Linked DNA regions of Homo sapiens: region 2 is linked to region 1. Evidence: promoter capture Hi-C in 16 types of primary human blood cells and fetal thymus (Javierre and others, 2016). All regions are on one chromosome and are shown on one strand. The core of a region is centred on a gene start or on the middle of the fragment in contact, and the rest is flanking DNA. Distances in the headings are between cores, read along the strand shown. Region 1 holds the start of IRAK2 (interleukin 1 receptor associated kinase 2). Region 2 holds the start of SEC13 (SEC13 homolog, nuclear pore and COPII component).

Evidence for each region. Contacts are between HindIII fragments. The CHiCAGO score rates a contact against its expected background, and 5 or more counts as called.
Region 2: the fragment with the promoter of SEC13 here is called in contact with the fragment with the promoter of IRAK2 in region 1 in 1 of 17 cell types (neutrophils); the score reaches 7.6 in neutrophils.

The regions. Positions count from the first base shown.
Region 1 is chr3:10,159,847-10,167,495 of GRCh38, reverse strand. IRAK2 (interleukin 1 receptor associated kinase 2) reads right to left here and starts at 2,577. Exons shown (of 13, transcript NM_001570.4): 1 at 2,448-2,577. The coding sequence starts at 2,541. RefSeq lists silencers at 2,263-2,412, 2,613-2,742. The HindIII fragment of the contact is 5,632 bases long and covers 388-6,019 here.
Region 2 is chr3:10,317,034-10,324,682 of GRCh38, reverse strand. It overlaps SEC13 (SEC13 homolog, nuclear pore and COPII component), which reads left to right and starts at 3,571. Exons shown (of 9, transcript NM_183352.3): 1 at 3,571-3,633; 2 at 6,589-6,633. The coding sequence starts at 3,631. ATP2B2 (ATPase plasma membrane Ca2+ transporting 2) reads left to right here. Exons shown (of 23, transcript NM_001001331.4): 23 at 1-660. RefSeq lists a silencer at 3,336-3,415 and enhancers at 3,263-3,858, 3,606-3,905. The HindIII fragment of the contact is 12,357 bases long and covers 1-7,649 here.

The sequences.
Region 1 (7,649 bases), core at 1,328-3,827:
TTGCAGTGAGCCGAGATTGCGCCACTGCACTCCAGCCTGGGTGACAAAGCGAGACTCCGTCTCAAAAAAAAAAAAAAGAAACTAAGTATTGACGCATGCTACAACATGGATGAACCTCATGTTAGTTGAAACAAGTCAGTCACAGAGCACTATATATTATATGATTCCATTTATATGAAATGTCCAAAATAGGCAATGTCTAAAACTCAGGAAAATGGAAGGAGGGGATTGGAAGTTAACGGGTACAGAGTTTCTTCTTCGGGTGATTAAAATGTTCTAAGATTGATTGTGAAGATGGATACACAGCCCTGTGAATATACTAAATACCACTAAATTGTACTCCTGAAACAGGTGGATTGTATGGTATGTGAATATCTCAGTAAAGCTTTATTTTTTTTTTAAGTCATAGGTATGCCTTCTAATTGAATTTCCTAGAAACAGAAGTTGTTCTGGCATTTGTAACTGAGGGCTGGGCCAATGTGGAAAAAATGAGAGGGAGTCTCACACAAAGTTTGTTCACTGCCCAGGAAACATTCAAAGTAGTGAAGCCAGGTCCAGGAGCAGTGGCTCACGCCTGTAATCCCAGCACTTTGGGAGGCCAAAGCGGCCAAATCACATGAGGTCAGGAGTTCGAGACCAGCCTGGCCAACATGGCGAAACCCCATCTCTACTAAAAACATAAAAATTAGTGGGCGTGGTGGCACATGCCTGTAATCCCAGCTACTCGGGAGGCTGAGGCAAGAGAATCACTTGAATCCAAGAGGCGGAAGCTGCAGTGAGCCGAGATCTCGCCACTGCATTCCAGCCTGGGCCACAGAATGAGACTGTCTCAAAAAAATAAAAATGAAAAGAGAATATTACAACTTATGACTTATAAGAATATTTAACACTTAGGTGTCAGTGCTTTTATACAGTATTTTCATTCCTCACAACTTTATGAAGAAGCTATAATTATCATCTCCAGTTTACATACAGATTCAGAAGCTGAGGCTCAGAGAGGTTAACAAACTGGCCCAAAGTCATACAGCAAGAGCCTGGAATGCAGATCTCCACCTGGAAAGCAGAGACAACAGGCAAGCGGCCTCCCCGCAGAGTCCATGGCCCTCTCCGCCAGTCATCCGTCAGGCACCAACAAACAAAACATATGGAGGCTGTCTGAGTGCCTTCCCACGGAATTATCTAGAACTGTGCACCTTGCAATAGAGTGAAAGTAAGTGCTTGTGCTTAGGCCCCATTATACACACTGAATCTATTAGGACACATCTGATCTCAAAACAGGTTGATAGTCATAAATACTGTGATCAAAACAATGTACACTAAAAGTAAATATCTGATTTTAAAACTATAATGGTAAAGTACATTTAATCACAAATATGATAAATAGGCTGGGCACAGTGGCTCACGCCTGTAATCCCAGCACTTTGGGAGGCCGAAGCAGGTGGATCGCCTGAGATCAAGAGTTCCGGAGGCCGGGCGCGGTGGCTCATGCCTGTAATCCCAGCACTTTGGGAGGCCCAGGGTGGGCGGATCACAAGGTCAGGAGATCCAGACCATCCTGGCTAACACGGTGAAACCCCGTCTCTACTAAGAATACAAAGTTAGCCGGGCGTGGTGGCGGGCGCCTGTAGTCCCAGCTACTCAGAAGGCTGAGGCAGGAGAATGGCGTGAACCCGGGAGGCGGAGCTTGCAACGAGCCTAGATCGCGCCACTGCACTCCAGCCTGGGCGACAGAGTGAGACTCCGTCTTAAAAAAAAAAAAAAAAAAAAAAAAAAATAGTTCAAGACCAGTCTGGCCAACATGGTGAAACCCGGTCTCTACTGAAAATACAAAAAATTAGCCAGGGTGGTAGCGGGCGCCTGTAATCCCAGCTACTCGGGAGGCCGAGGCAGGAAAATCGCTTGAATCCCAGAGGTGGAGGTTGCAGTGAGCCGAGACCGTGCCATTGCACTCCAGCCTGGGCAACAACAGCGAAACTCCGTTTCAATATATATATATATGTTAAATCATAGATCCTTCTAATATACACTAAAACTAAACACACCACACACACACACACACACACCCCCCCAAGAAGTGACAGCACCGTGGGTCCCTACAGGGTCGAGGCTCGCACTTTGCAGGCTGTTGTGGGCTGGATGAGAGGCCACCTGGGGACGTCACCGAGCCAGCAGCGCTGACAGGAGGGCCCCCGTACCCACCGTTCTCTGGACTCAGAGCGCAGTGGCGGCGGCCCCTGCTCGTCGACAGACGTCCTCAGAGACCACGCGGCACCTTCAGGTGACAGGCCGAGGTCCGCGGCGGACCCGGTCCAGGAGGCTCAGCTCGCACGCCCTCGGATCGGGACCCGCTGAACCCGGGTGCCCGAGGGAGCTTGGCGGCCGCTCCAGGCGGGATCGCTGGGGGCTCCGGTCGCCCTGGTCCCCTCCCCTCCCCGGGCCGCACTCACCGAACTCCATCCAGTCCCACTCGCTGAGCGCGTCCATGTTGCGGCACAGGTCGTCCAGCACCCAGGAGGGCAGCTGGTAGATGTAGCAGGCCATGGCACGCTACGGGGCCGGCTCCGGCGCGGGACGACTGGGTCGGACACTGCGGGCTGCGGCTTCTCTAGCCAGGGGCGGACCGGCGGGGAAGTGGGCGGGGCGGGAGGGCACCAGCGTCCCCAGCGGCCACGGGCGGCACGACGGCCCCGCCGGCTCCACCCCAGCGCCGGCCAGAGAATCGGAACTGCGAGGGGAAACTGAGGCCCTGGTGGGAGAAGGCCACACGGGAATTCTGCCGCAGCGGCAGGAGGCCTTCTGACCCCACTTCCATCGGCACTACACCATGCATCATGCGCTCATCAAATACTCCATTAATTACCTACTGTATGCCAGGCAACTCCCTAGGTGTTGGTAATACCTGAATAAGAAACCCTACAGCCGGGCGCGGTGGATCACTCCTGTAATCCCAGTACTTTGGGAGGCCGAGGCGGACGGATCACGAGGTCAGGAGTTCGAGACTAGCCTGGCCAATATGGTGAAACCCCGTCACTACTAAAAATACAAAAATTAGCCGGGCACGGTGGCGCACGCCTGTAGTCCCAGCTACCTGGGAGGCTGAGGCAGAAGAATCGCTTGAACCCTGGAGGCGGAGGTTGCAGTAAGCCCAGATTGTGCCCTTGTACTCCAGCCTGGGTGAAGAGTGAGGCTCTGTCTCAAAAAAAAAAAAAAAAAAAAAAAAAAGCCTACAAAAGCCCTTGCTTTCATAAGACTTACAATCTAGGTGTGGAGAGAAAGACTAACAATAAATAATAAATATAGTATGTTACAGAGTGTCTTAAAGGTAATAAGCACTATTGCAAAAAAAAAAAAAAAGGAAAAAAAGTTGGTTAAAGGGAATCAGGAATTCAGATTGAGCATGGGGAATATTCTATTAAATAGGGTAGTCAGGTAGACTTTACTATAGTAGCTAATATGTATCGTGCAGCTACTATGTGCCAGGCACTGTTGTAGGTGCTGGGAATACCTCTGAAGAGAAGGACAAAATCCTTGTCCTGGAGGGAGACAGACAACAAGCAATAAAAATAGGCAGATAAGCTATGTTGGAGAATGAAAGTAGAAGCCTGGGCAACATAGGAAGATCTTATCTCTACAAAAAACTTTTTTTTTTTGAGACGGAGTCTTGCTCTGTAGCCCAGGCTGGAGTGCAGTGGCGCAATCTTGGCTCACTGCAGCCTCTGCCTCCCAGGTCCCGGTTCAAGCAATTCTCCTGCCTCAGTCTCCCGAGTAGCTGGGATTACAGGCACGCGCCACCACGCCCAGCTAATTTTTGTATTTTTAGTAGAGACAGGGTTTCACTGTGTTGGCCAGGATGGTCTTGAACTCCTGACCTCGTGATCCGCCTGCCTCGGCCTCCCAAAGTGCTAGGATTACAGGCATGAGCCACCACGCCTGGCCTCTACAAAAAATTTTAAAATGAGCCAAGCATGGTAGTGTACACCTATAGTCCCAGCTACTCAGGAGGCTAAGGTGGTAGGATCTCTTGAACCCAGGAGTTTGAGGCTGCAGTGAGCTATGACTGCACTGCAGCCTGAGTGACAGAATGAGACCCTGTCTCTGAAAAAAAAAAAAAAAAAAAGAAAGAAAAGAAAGAATAAAAGTAGAGGGTGGTAAAAGGGAGTGCAAGTGGCCAATTGCATTATCTTAGATGATACTATTACTGGGAAAAAAGCAGAGTATGGTGCAGGGGACTGCAGGACAAACTGGATTATTAAATAGGGTATAAGGGGCTGGGTGCGGCGGCTCCCACCTATAACCCCAGCACTTTGGGAGGCAGAGGCAGGCAGATCGCTTGAGCCCAGGAATTCGAGACCAGCCTGGGAAACAGAGCAAGACCCTGTCTCTACAAAAATTAGCCAGGCATGGTGGCATGTGCCTGTAGTCCCAGGTACTTGGGAGGCTAAGGTAGGGGGATCACTTGAGCCCAGGAGGTGGAGATTGCAGTGAGCCAAGATTGCACCACTGCACTCCAGCCTGGGTGAGAGTGAGACCCTGTCTCTAAATAAACAAAGAGGGTACAAGGAACAGAATTTATAGTGTGTGTATACATATATATATATATATATATATATATATATATATATAAAATACACACACACATATATAAAATAGCTAGTATTTATTGAGCACTTACTATGTGTAGCCTTCACCTGGGTTACTTTACTTACTCCTTACAATGACCCTCTGAGGTAGGTATGGTTATAGCCCCATTCTACAAATAAGGAAACTAAGGCACAGAGAGGTTAAATAATATGGCTAAAATCATTTGAACCTAAGTATTCTGACCCCAGGCTCTCCATCACCACTGGCTAAAGTATATTGTAGATACAGATACATTTATCTGTATCTACAATGTACTTTGCAAAAATGATCTTATGTCATTCTTACAAGCCTATACTATAGATATTATTATCCCCATTTTACACAGAAGTAAATAGATTCCAAGAGGTTAGGCGAGGTCACGAAGGGCAGATAAGTAACTAGAGTAGGTACCACTGTATAGCTGTGGCCGTCAGCTATGGAGTAGCGCTGCAAAAGGAGGAAGCTGAAATCAAAGTGAGAAGTCCTAGGGCCAAGTTGCAGTTCTGCCACCAACAGGCTTTGTGACTCTGGACAACTCATTTCATTCGTCAAGCCTTGTTTCCAGCATCTGTAAAGTGGGCCTGCTCCTTCCTACTGCTTAGAGTTGTGAGGGGAGTGGAATAAATCAAATTATGTAGCCTATATAGAACACCTACTACAGGGCTTTCCTCGCACAGAGAATGTGCCCAAAAAATGGTAGCTGTCATTAGTGGTCTTGAAAAGGCACCCACTGGCCTTGGAGTCCTATCAAGTTTGGAGACCTGGTTCAGCCACTCTCCGGCTCTTAGTCCTTTGAGCCAGTTCTGTTTTCCCTTTTGGAAACTGGATCTCCTGCTGCAGCCACTTGGAAGGATTGTTATGAAGCCTAAATGGACTCCAAAACGCTCAAGATCAACTGTGAAGTGCTGAGCCCAGTAAAGGATTACTATTATGTCCTCCTTGATGTTGAAAGTGGGACATATTTCAGTGTTCTGAGACTACTTTTCAAGTGAAGTCCTGTGTTTTCAGCAGTGGCTGAAGGTGGACTTGGGAACTGTAATGATTGTTTGCCATAGGCTGGGTGGAGAAGCATCTCCATCCCAGGCACACGGGGGTAAAAGAGAATAAAGATCCTCTTCTTTTTCTCCTTTTCTCTTTTTGCAGAGTCCCCTACCTGCTTCTCCTTCTCTTCCGCAAGCAGCGTGTGTGTAGAGCTCCTCCCTCAGTGCCACAGGGCCTCTTCCCTGGGGTGAGGCTTTAAGACCACGGAAGTTTCACATTCAGCCTTGGTCAATCCTGGAAGGCAGAGGAGCCCCCACTGCTCTCTCTGCTGCATCCTCAGGCCCTTCCCGCAATTCCTTCTCACCCCAGCCTCAGGGCTTGGGATCTGTGTCCTAGGATTCTGTCTTCCAGAGAAGCTTGAGTCATTTTGGGCCTGAGCAGGTCATCACAGGGACACATCTCAGTTACCACTCTTTAGAATAAGTTCTTCAAAGTAAGGTCTTTGCTATTACTAATGGTTGCCCTTCACCTACCAACTCACCTAGCAGGCATTTAGCATACATTATCTGTAATCCATACAACCCTGCAAAGGTTTATTGTTTCTGTTTTACAGATGAAGAAACTGAGGCTGAAGTCAATTGTAACTGGGCCAAGTTGGCCAAGTGACAGTGAGGTAGGGGGCAGCACTCGACTCGAAAGGAATGGCTGGGACATCGGACCAAATTGAGGACTAGCTAAAACAGGTGTGGTGGGAAGTACCTCGCATAAGACACTGCCACCAGTGTACCTTGTCAGTTTACCATTGCCATGGCGACTCCAAGAAGTCACCGCCCCTTTCTAGAATGTTCTGCATAAACTGCCCCTTAATTTGCATATAATTAAAAGTGTGTATAAATGTGACTGTAGAACTGCCTCTGAGCCACTACTCTGGGCACACTGCCTATGGAGTAGCCCTACCCTGCAAGGAGCAGTACCTCTGCTGCGGCTGCACACTGCTATTTCAATAAAAGGTGCTATTTAACACCACTGGCTGGCCCTGGAATTCCTTTCTGGGTGAAGCTAAGAACCCTCCCAGGCTAAACCCCAATTTGGGGGCTTGCCTGTCCCGCATCAACAGGATGCAACTCAAGTCTGACCCAAAGCAAATGCTCTTTCTGCTGTGTTATACTGCCTCACCACAAGAAATTTCCTCTGATCTTGCAGTTAATTTCTTCCTCTGGCTATTTTCCATGACCAACACCCACCAGGATCAGTTAGAAACAGTTATTGAGGCTGAATGTAATTAATTACACACTTACGTCATTTTGAGCTGTTCAAGTTTAATTCCCTTGAAATTATAGTCAGTGGTTTGCAACCCTGGCTGCACAGTAGAAACATCTGGGGTGCTTTTAAAAAGTATAAATGCCTAGCCCTACCTCCAGGGAGACAGATTCAATTATTCTGGAGTGGGGCTCAGGCACTACTGTTTTTTAAAGCTTCCCAGATAATTCTAATATGTGCTGGCACAGTTGAGAACCAGTCATATCAGAAAGCTGGGGCAGAGGCCAAGCATGGTGGCTCATGCCTGCAATCCCAGCACTTTGGGAGACCGAGGTGGGTGGATCACTTGAGGTCAGGAGTTCGAGACCAGCCCAACCAACACGGCGGAACCCCGTTTCTACTAAAAATACAAAAAAATTCGCTGGGCGTGATGGCACGCACCTGTAATCCCAGCTACTTGGGAGGCTGAGGCAGGAGAATCATTTGAACCCGGGAGGTGGAGACTGCACTGAGCCAAGATCATACCACTGCACTCCAGACTGGGGGACACAGTGAGACTCCATATCAAAAAAAAAAAAAAAAAAAAAAAAAAAGCTGGAGCAGGAGGGAAGACTGATGAAAGGAGAATAATAAAGCTTCTCTATGCACTTTGCATATATTTTTCTTTTTTTTTCTCTCTTTTTGAGACGGAGTTTTGCTCTTGTTGCCCAGGCTGGAGTGCACTGGTGTGATCTTGGCTAACCGCAACCCCTGCCTCCTGGGTTCAAGCAATTCTCCTGCCTCAGCCT
Region 2 (7,649 bases), core at 2,322-4,821, 160 kb before region 1:
CCACTCTTGCGCTACCTGCAGGAGGCTGCCAACCTGGTGCATTCTGACAAGCCTCCCACCCAAATCTCTCTCCTGCCATTGTGTCCAAAATCCCACCATTAGAGGCTCTTGTAGGGAAGAGCGTTTCTTGAAGGCTTTTAGGCCTTCCAGAGCCAGGAGGGAAGTCAGACAATAGCAGGAAGTCCCCAGGCCTTTTCAAAGTTCCAAACCAAGCTCTCCTGATTTTAATGTAGAGATCATACCAACCCAGGTGGGGGAGGAGGGTCCCCAGCCCCAGGCAGCAGCCATCACCCCCTCCACTGAAAACAATATTGGAGGCTGCTTTGGGACTGCCCTTCTCAGCCCCCTAAGTCTGTTTTGTAATGCCTGTGGTGCTCTCCCTCCTGGACCTTTCCTCTCGGGGGTCACCACACTTTGCTAACTCTTGTGTGCACATATTTTATAATAGAGTAGCGAGGGAATGGTGCCGCCTCCAGCTTCCGTAAGCTGCCCGGGCTCTGGGGGGCTCTGGGACAATCGGGGCTGGGAAGTGACTGTGCTCTTATTGTACACTCTTTATTTCTCTGTATCTTTGGCTTGTGCTCTTTGTAATTAATGGGATTTGTCTGCCTTTTCAACACTATACTGAGCAATAACAATAAATGCACACGTGGAAATGCAGACACGGTACACATCACAAGGCCTTTTTCTGAAGGACAGCTGGGTCCCCGCCCTTCGTGGAGTTGAACTCAGGGGGAAACTGAGTCCCTGGGAGGGAAATGCACTTTGCCCAAGGGCCCACAGCTCAGCGGGCAGTCTCTCTCCTTCCACTAGATCACACCTTTTGAACACCCACCATTTGAGGGAGACAGGCTCACCCTGCCATGAGCCATTAACCTATGAGGAATGGTTGACCATCTCATAGAAGAAGACTGGGGAACGGGGCCTCAGGACGAAGCGGAGGAGGTTTGGGGGCAAGGGGTGGGGGGGCAAAAATCAGGGAAAGTTGGCCTGATTTGGGGTCTGGATTAACCAGAGGGAGGAGATGCGGAATACAGACACTGGATCTAGGTGGCACCCCCCTACTGGGGAGAGGGGTAAGGCAGAGGGAAGCCTGGCACCTGAGGAGTCTGGACTTCACAAACCTCTGCTGAACATTGGCAGAGAAAGAGAATATGCCCAGACCAACAAGTAATCCCTAAGGTTGGCCCAAGGGTTGAGAGTTACACACACACTCACACACTCACACAGCTCTTCTTAGGTTGAACTGATCCCCAAATCAAGCGCCATAGGCCCATCTGACTTCCATACGCAGTTTCATATCCAAGGGTTCATTTAATCCCAATATCAACCTTCAGAGGAGGTATTATTATAATTCTCACTCAAAAGAGCAGGAGACAGCATCTCAAAGAGGTGAAGAGCATGCCCACCTGGTAAGCAGGAGATCCAGCACTGATACCTAGCAGTCTTGATGCCAGCATCTGTACTCTAAACTGCCATATTACAGCGCCTTATGGGCCAAATACCTTACAGCAAATACCTTAATGAATAAGATACAGTTCTGTTGCTTGTCACAAATCCCCAATCTCTTCAACATCAGTGTCTACACAAGGAAATTCTTTTAATCACAATTATGCCTGATGCATTATATTTACATCTAATATGCCCTTGTCCTCATTTTCCACTCAAAGAAAGTGAGGCTCAGAGAAAAGTGACTTGGCCTTATCACCTAGAAAGTCAGTGGTGCAGCTATAGAGCCAAGGCCAGAGCCTGTTCCTTGAAGAACAGGAGATCTGGCAGGACGCAGCGGCTCACACCTGTAATCCCAGCACTTTGAGAGGCCGAGGAGAGTAGATCACCAGAGGTCAGGAGTTTGAGACCAGCCTGGCCAACATGGTGAAACCCCATCTCTACTAAAACTACAAAAATTAGCCAGGCATGGTGGCACATGCCTGTAATCCCAGCTACTCAGGAGGCTGAGGCAGGAGAATTGCTTGAACCCGGGAGGTAGAGGTTGCAGTGAGCCAAGATCATACCACTGGACTCCAGCCTGGGCAACAGAGCTAGAGTCCATCTCCAAAAAAAAAAAAACAAAAAAAACAACAGGAGATCCAAGAGATCCCCTGAAACCTGCCTTTGTTCCCTGCTCTAACCTAACCACCACCCCCTCACACCCCTGCAACAATTTCTCCACTAGAGGGCAATAAAAAATCTTGAAAGCTGCAGTGGGGTAGAAGAGTTGCCCAGAGGCCTGGCCCTTAATTCTAACACCCTACTCCCCTGGCCTCCCCTCCAAAGCTCCTTGACAGTTTGGGTCTATCACATTCTCTGAGCCTTAACATCTTCCTTCAAGCAGTGACCATCTCCAGCTAGGGTCCTTACTCCCAGTTTCAGCAGAGGAAACTGAAGGACTGTGACTTGCCCAAGGGGAGCCAAGGCCTCCCCCAGCTCATCTGCCTCCTTAATGTCACAAGGGGCCCAGGGCTAGACCATATGTGGCTGAGGCGGGGAGCCCAGGCTCTGTCCTCCAGTGTGGCATTCTCACTGCGCTTGTGGGGAGCCTTCAGCTGCCCTACCTTGTGAAGCCAGAGACCTGGGGTTGGGGACCCTGAGGATTAGGTCTGGGGCTCTAGCTGCAGGAGCCTGGCTGAGATCCTTCATTGCCTAGGGGGGTCTCCTTGATGGGACTTACTCAGGACCCCAGGGGATCGGTTTGGAAGGGGCAGTCCTATATAGGGGTTAGGGATGGCAGGGCCAGAGGTCCCAGCCTCTGGCGAGGGGCATTCCCTGGCCTCCTCTGCCCTGGTCCCAGTCCTTGGGTACTGAGAGGGAGACTACAACAAGGAAGCACTAGGACAGTCTACTTACTCCTAAGATGTCACTCATCCTACAACATTCATCATAAGACCAGTCGCACCCAGAGCCGTAGTGAGGCGGGTGAAGCTGCAGATAGATAGATGATAGATAGATAGATAGATAGATAGATAGATAGATAGATAGATAGATAGATTTTTTTCTTTTTTACAAGAGTGTCTCTCTGTTGCCCAGGCTGGAGTGCAATGGTGCAGTCACGGCTCACTGTAACCTCCACCTCCCGGGTTCCAGCGATTCTCCTGCCTCAGCCTGTAGCTGGGACTACAGGCGCGCGCCACTATGCCCGGCTAATTTTTGTATTTTTGGTAGAGACGGGGTTTCACCATGTTGGCCAGGCTGGTCTCGAACTCCTGACCTCAGGTGATCCACCCCCCAGCTCAGCCTCCCAAAGTTCTGGGATTACAGGCATGAGCCACCGCGCCCGGCCGATAGTTATATTAATCCTTTCTTTCATTTATGGATCTCAGGAAAAGGGCAGACTTGGTCGGGAGAGTAGACCCACCAGAGCTTCAGATTCCAAAGCCCTCCGGGTCAGGGTAACTGCGGCAACCAGAGCCCCAGCCCTCTGGTCTCGCACGTCACTGGAGGATAGGGGCTGGGCCACGGGAGGGCGGGGCGCGCCCTCTGGAAGGCGCGGAACTGCTGTGCGAGCCGAGCGCGTTGCTGCCCGGAGGCTCCTACGCCACGGCCCGTCGGGCCCGGCGCCGGAAGTGAGCTGTTCCGAGGCGCCGCCGGGAGCTGCCACGTCCGAGACCTGGAGCAGCCACCGCCGCAATCATGGTGAGTGTTGGTACTGAGGAGGCCTAGCAGGGTGAAGGCCACGGTCGCGGCCTTCACGGGTTCCTCGGCCGTCCTGAGTCCCAAATCCCAAGCTGGAGCCGTTCAGCTCCCCTCCACCGCTTAGAGATTTGGGGGGCTCTGGCCCCGTCCTTGCGGACCATTCCGAGGGGAGTCCAGAGGTGAGGCCGAGGAACCTCCCTGACTTTGCGGGGCGCGCCGCTCCTGCGTCTCCTGCCAGTCTCCCTTCCTTCTTTTCGGTCAACAATTGAAAACAAAACGAGGAACAGCAGAGGAGCTACTGTATACCGAGCCCTCAGCATTGTTCGTAATCTCCGCCTGCTAACAGCCTTGTGAAGAAGGTGCTATTCTTCTCAACACTTTACAGATGAGGACACTTGAGGTTCGGAGACGTGGAGCCTCTTGCACAGCTGCTTAAGTGGTAGTAGAGCCGAGATTTGAACCCTCCTAACCATTCCTTTCTGCCGCCTACTGCAGCTCCCAGCAGAGATGATTGAACTGTTGCTCGGGGTAGGGCCCCCAGGTAGGATGGGCACCTCGGGAAACGTAAAGATGGCCTGAACGACCCTCCGAAGGCAGGGGCTCAGGGTTTTTTAAGTCTCTGTGGCATCTGCAGTGTACATTCACTCCACACTTACTCCTTGAGTGAATGAATGACTGAAGGAGAACTAAAGAATGGAAGTATCTGGGCTGAGCCTGGAATATCTAGTACATGCATTCTTTTAGAAACATGGGTGTGTCTCAGCAGCAGGTTTGAGGGAACCTGCAGGAACCTAGAAATCAGAACACTGTGTTCTTGTTCTGCAGAGGGTTAGGTGTAAATCACTCACCTCTGGCTCTTCCACTGCAGGTTAGAGTTGAGGCTTTTATGCTCTGACATTCAGCTCATCCTAAATGAATTTTTAACTCATTATCTGATCTCAAAGAGGTGAATTATTTTGAGTGCAGGTGTTAACAGGGACCAGATAATACCAGGTCCCTGGGAAGAAGTACTCTAAGAAGTTCTCTCTCTCTCTCTCTCTCTCCCCACCCTCCCTCTCTCCCCACTCCCTCTCCCTCCCCCCTTCCTCTCCCTCTCCCTTTCTCTCTCTCCCCCTCCCTCTCTTCTCTCTCTCTCTCCCCGCTCCCTCTTCCTCCCCCCTTCCTCTCCCTCTCCCTTTCTCTCCCGCCCTTCCTCCTTCCTTCCGTCCTTTTCTCTCCCCCTCCCTCTTTCCTCCCCCCCCCCCCCCCCCGCCTTCTCTCTCTCTCTCTCTCTCTCTCTCTCTCTCTCATTCAGAAGTGTGGTTCATCAACCCTGACTGGTGGGTGAGAGTGGTTAGAATTAAATGCTGATTATTTCTAAGGTCCTTTGGTAACCTGGTTGAAACTACCTCTCAGTAAACTTTCTTCGTGAACCTACTTAACCGCAGCTTTACAGAACTCAGTGTAACAACTGCTTTACATTCTAGACAGGCAGCCTGGTGGAGTGAAGTTTTGTGGACTCAGCATTAGAAGGTTAGGGGATGGGGCTCTTTTCCCAGGTCTGCCTTGAACTAGCTCTGTGACTTTGGCAAGTGCTTTCTCTTCTCTGGGCTTCTTCATTTCCTTAGTCTGTCGCAGGTCTCTGATTGACTGTGCCCTTGGTACCCTGCCCTCCCCGCCTTCCTGTGCACTTTGTAACCTATACAGCTCGGCACATGGAGGAAACTCCTTATTGTCCTTACTTGCCTTTGCAGACTTCGGGGACCTGGTTTTTAGAGAGTCTAGAATCTGATGAGAGAACCTGTGCTTACTTGGTGTGTACCTCTTGAACTGCTTTGCAGCCATCCTCTTCCACTGTCTGCCTTTCTGAAATCACAAGTCAAACTTTATACCTACAGGGCTTGTGCTGGAAAAGATGAAATGGGGAAAATGGTAAGAAATGTCTGTTCCACACTGAAACTTCTTTTAAGTCCTCTTTTCTATCCCAAGAATTTAAGAGAAGAGTGGTTGAGCAAAGAAAAAAAATAACAGCTTTTGTTCATTTACTTATTCATTCAGCAAATAGTCGCTGAGTTCCTTCTATTTGCAAAGCACTGTGCTGGATGATTTGAGGGGATTTGAAACTGCAGATGGCTCAGACCATGGCTCCAAGGAGCTCACCTTCTAGTGGGGAGAAGAAACAGCATAAAGTGTTGTATGTGTTCCTTGCTGAAGATATGCAAGAGAGTCCAGCCATTTGAGGGTCTGAGAATCTTCAAGAAAGGTGATGGATGGCCCTTTTTGAGCTGGACCTCAAAGAATAGATAGGAGGGAGATGACCATGACACCATGTTCCAGCCCTACAAACTGTTCAACTCTGGATCCCACTACGTGACGGACCAGGGAGCAGCCTCAGGAAACACTCGAATCAAGTCTCCCAGTCTGAAGTAATAACCCCGTTATGCATAAACTGCCTGGAACATCAGAGGCTCTGTCATCCAGGAAAGGAACACCAGCTGTAGCTCCCTTGGGGTCTCTCCTCAACCTTAAGGGTAGCCAGGACTGCTTGCCGTTTCCCCACACACATCAGGCTCTCTCAGACCTCTTTGTCTCTACTCGTGTATTCCCTCTGCTTGGCTGCTTGGACTGGTATTTTCCCCTGTGCCACCTGCAAATTCCTACCCATCATCTAGGGCTCAATTCGTGTCTACCACCCCAGCCCCTCAGGCTCCTACAGGACACACAAACCACCATTAAATAATTTATCTTGCGACACTAGCATTATTCGCGAGCTTCTCAAGGGCAAAAAGTTCCTCTTATTTGTGTCTGTATATCCAGTTCCTAGCACAGTGCTTGGCAGAAAGAAGGTACTTAGAATGAATGCTTACTGAATGAATGAATGAATGAGTGAGTGAACAAACAAATGCAGTCAAGAACTTGAGATGGTTGTATTCTAACTGCCATGAGTTAATTTACCAGTGATATCTTTGGTTCTAGGTGTCAGTAATTAACACTGTGGATACCTCCCATGAGGACATGATTGTAAGTATTAATATCACCCTCCCTGGAGGGGTGTGGACATGGGCATTTTTGTGGGAGGGAAGCAATTTGGGGTTTTCATTACCCCTTTCTGTTGATCATTCATGGATCCAGGGTGGCTTTGCAGTGGTTGCCTATCAGCCTGTAATCTCGGGGTATGGCAGGCTCCCTAGCAGTGCCCTCTGAGTTGTCAGGACTGTGGCAGTCTAATCACTCTCTGCTGGGAGGAACCTGGGAATAATTTGTAGTTCTAGGCTGTCAGTCTTCCAGCCAATACAATAACCTGCTCTCGGATGAAGGCTGAGTGGGTACGGAGGCTTGACAATAGTCTTCCCACCTGTCTTCCTCCTGCTGTCACTTCTTAGCCCCACTGGAAAGGGGGGTGAAAAGAAGAGAGTGTAGAAAGATGACTCAATACAAAGGCAGAGGGCAGCCACAGTGAAAGCCCCAGGCAGAGCCCAGTCAAACCACCAAGACAATAGGCCAGACAAGGCCCTTTGAACCAGAAGTCCACACTCAGGGCATTTCCTGAGAGGTAAACACAAGGCTCAGTATAAGAGGACAGGGCTGCAGGAGAAGGTCCAGAGGTTAAAGTCTACCGCAGGAAAAACACAGACTCTGCTTCATTCAGGGCCAAGCAGCCTTTGAGCAAGACCCAGGACAGCTGGCTGACAGTGTTTCATGTCAGGGTTCTTGCCCTCACAACCTGTCCACCAACAGTTGCTTTTGGGTTTCTGAGAGGTTGTCTGGTCCCAGAGTTGTATATGTTCTCTGGATTCAGTCATGAGTGGTCTAGCTGTAAGACCACACCTCCTTGGAGATAGCATGGAATCATGGGCAGGAAGACCCAGTCTGAGACTCCCTAGCCAATATCTTAACTTTTCTGAGCCAGCCTCAATTTACTTACGGGAAAAATAATGGATATGCTACCTACTCGTATGAGTTTGGTTTGAGAACTAGATGAGGCCAAGTAGTAATGACAAACATTTGCATGCTCACTGAGTGTCAGGCCCCATGCT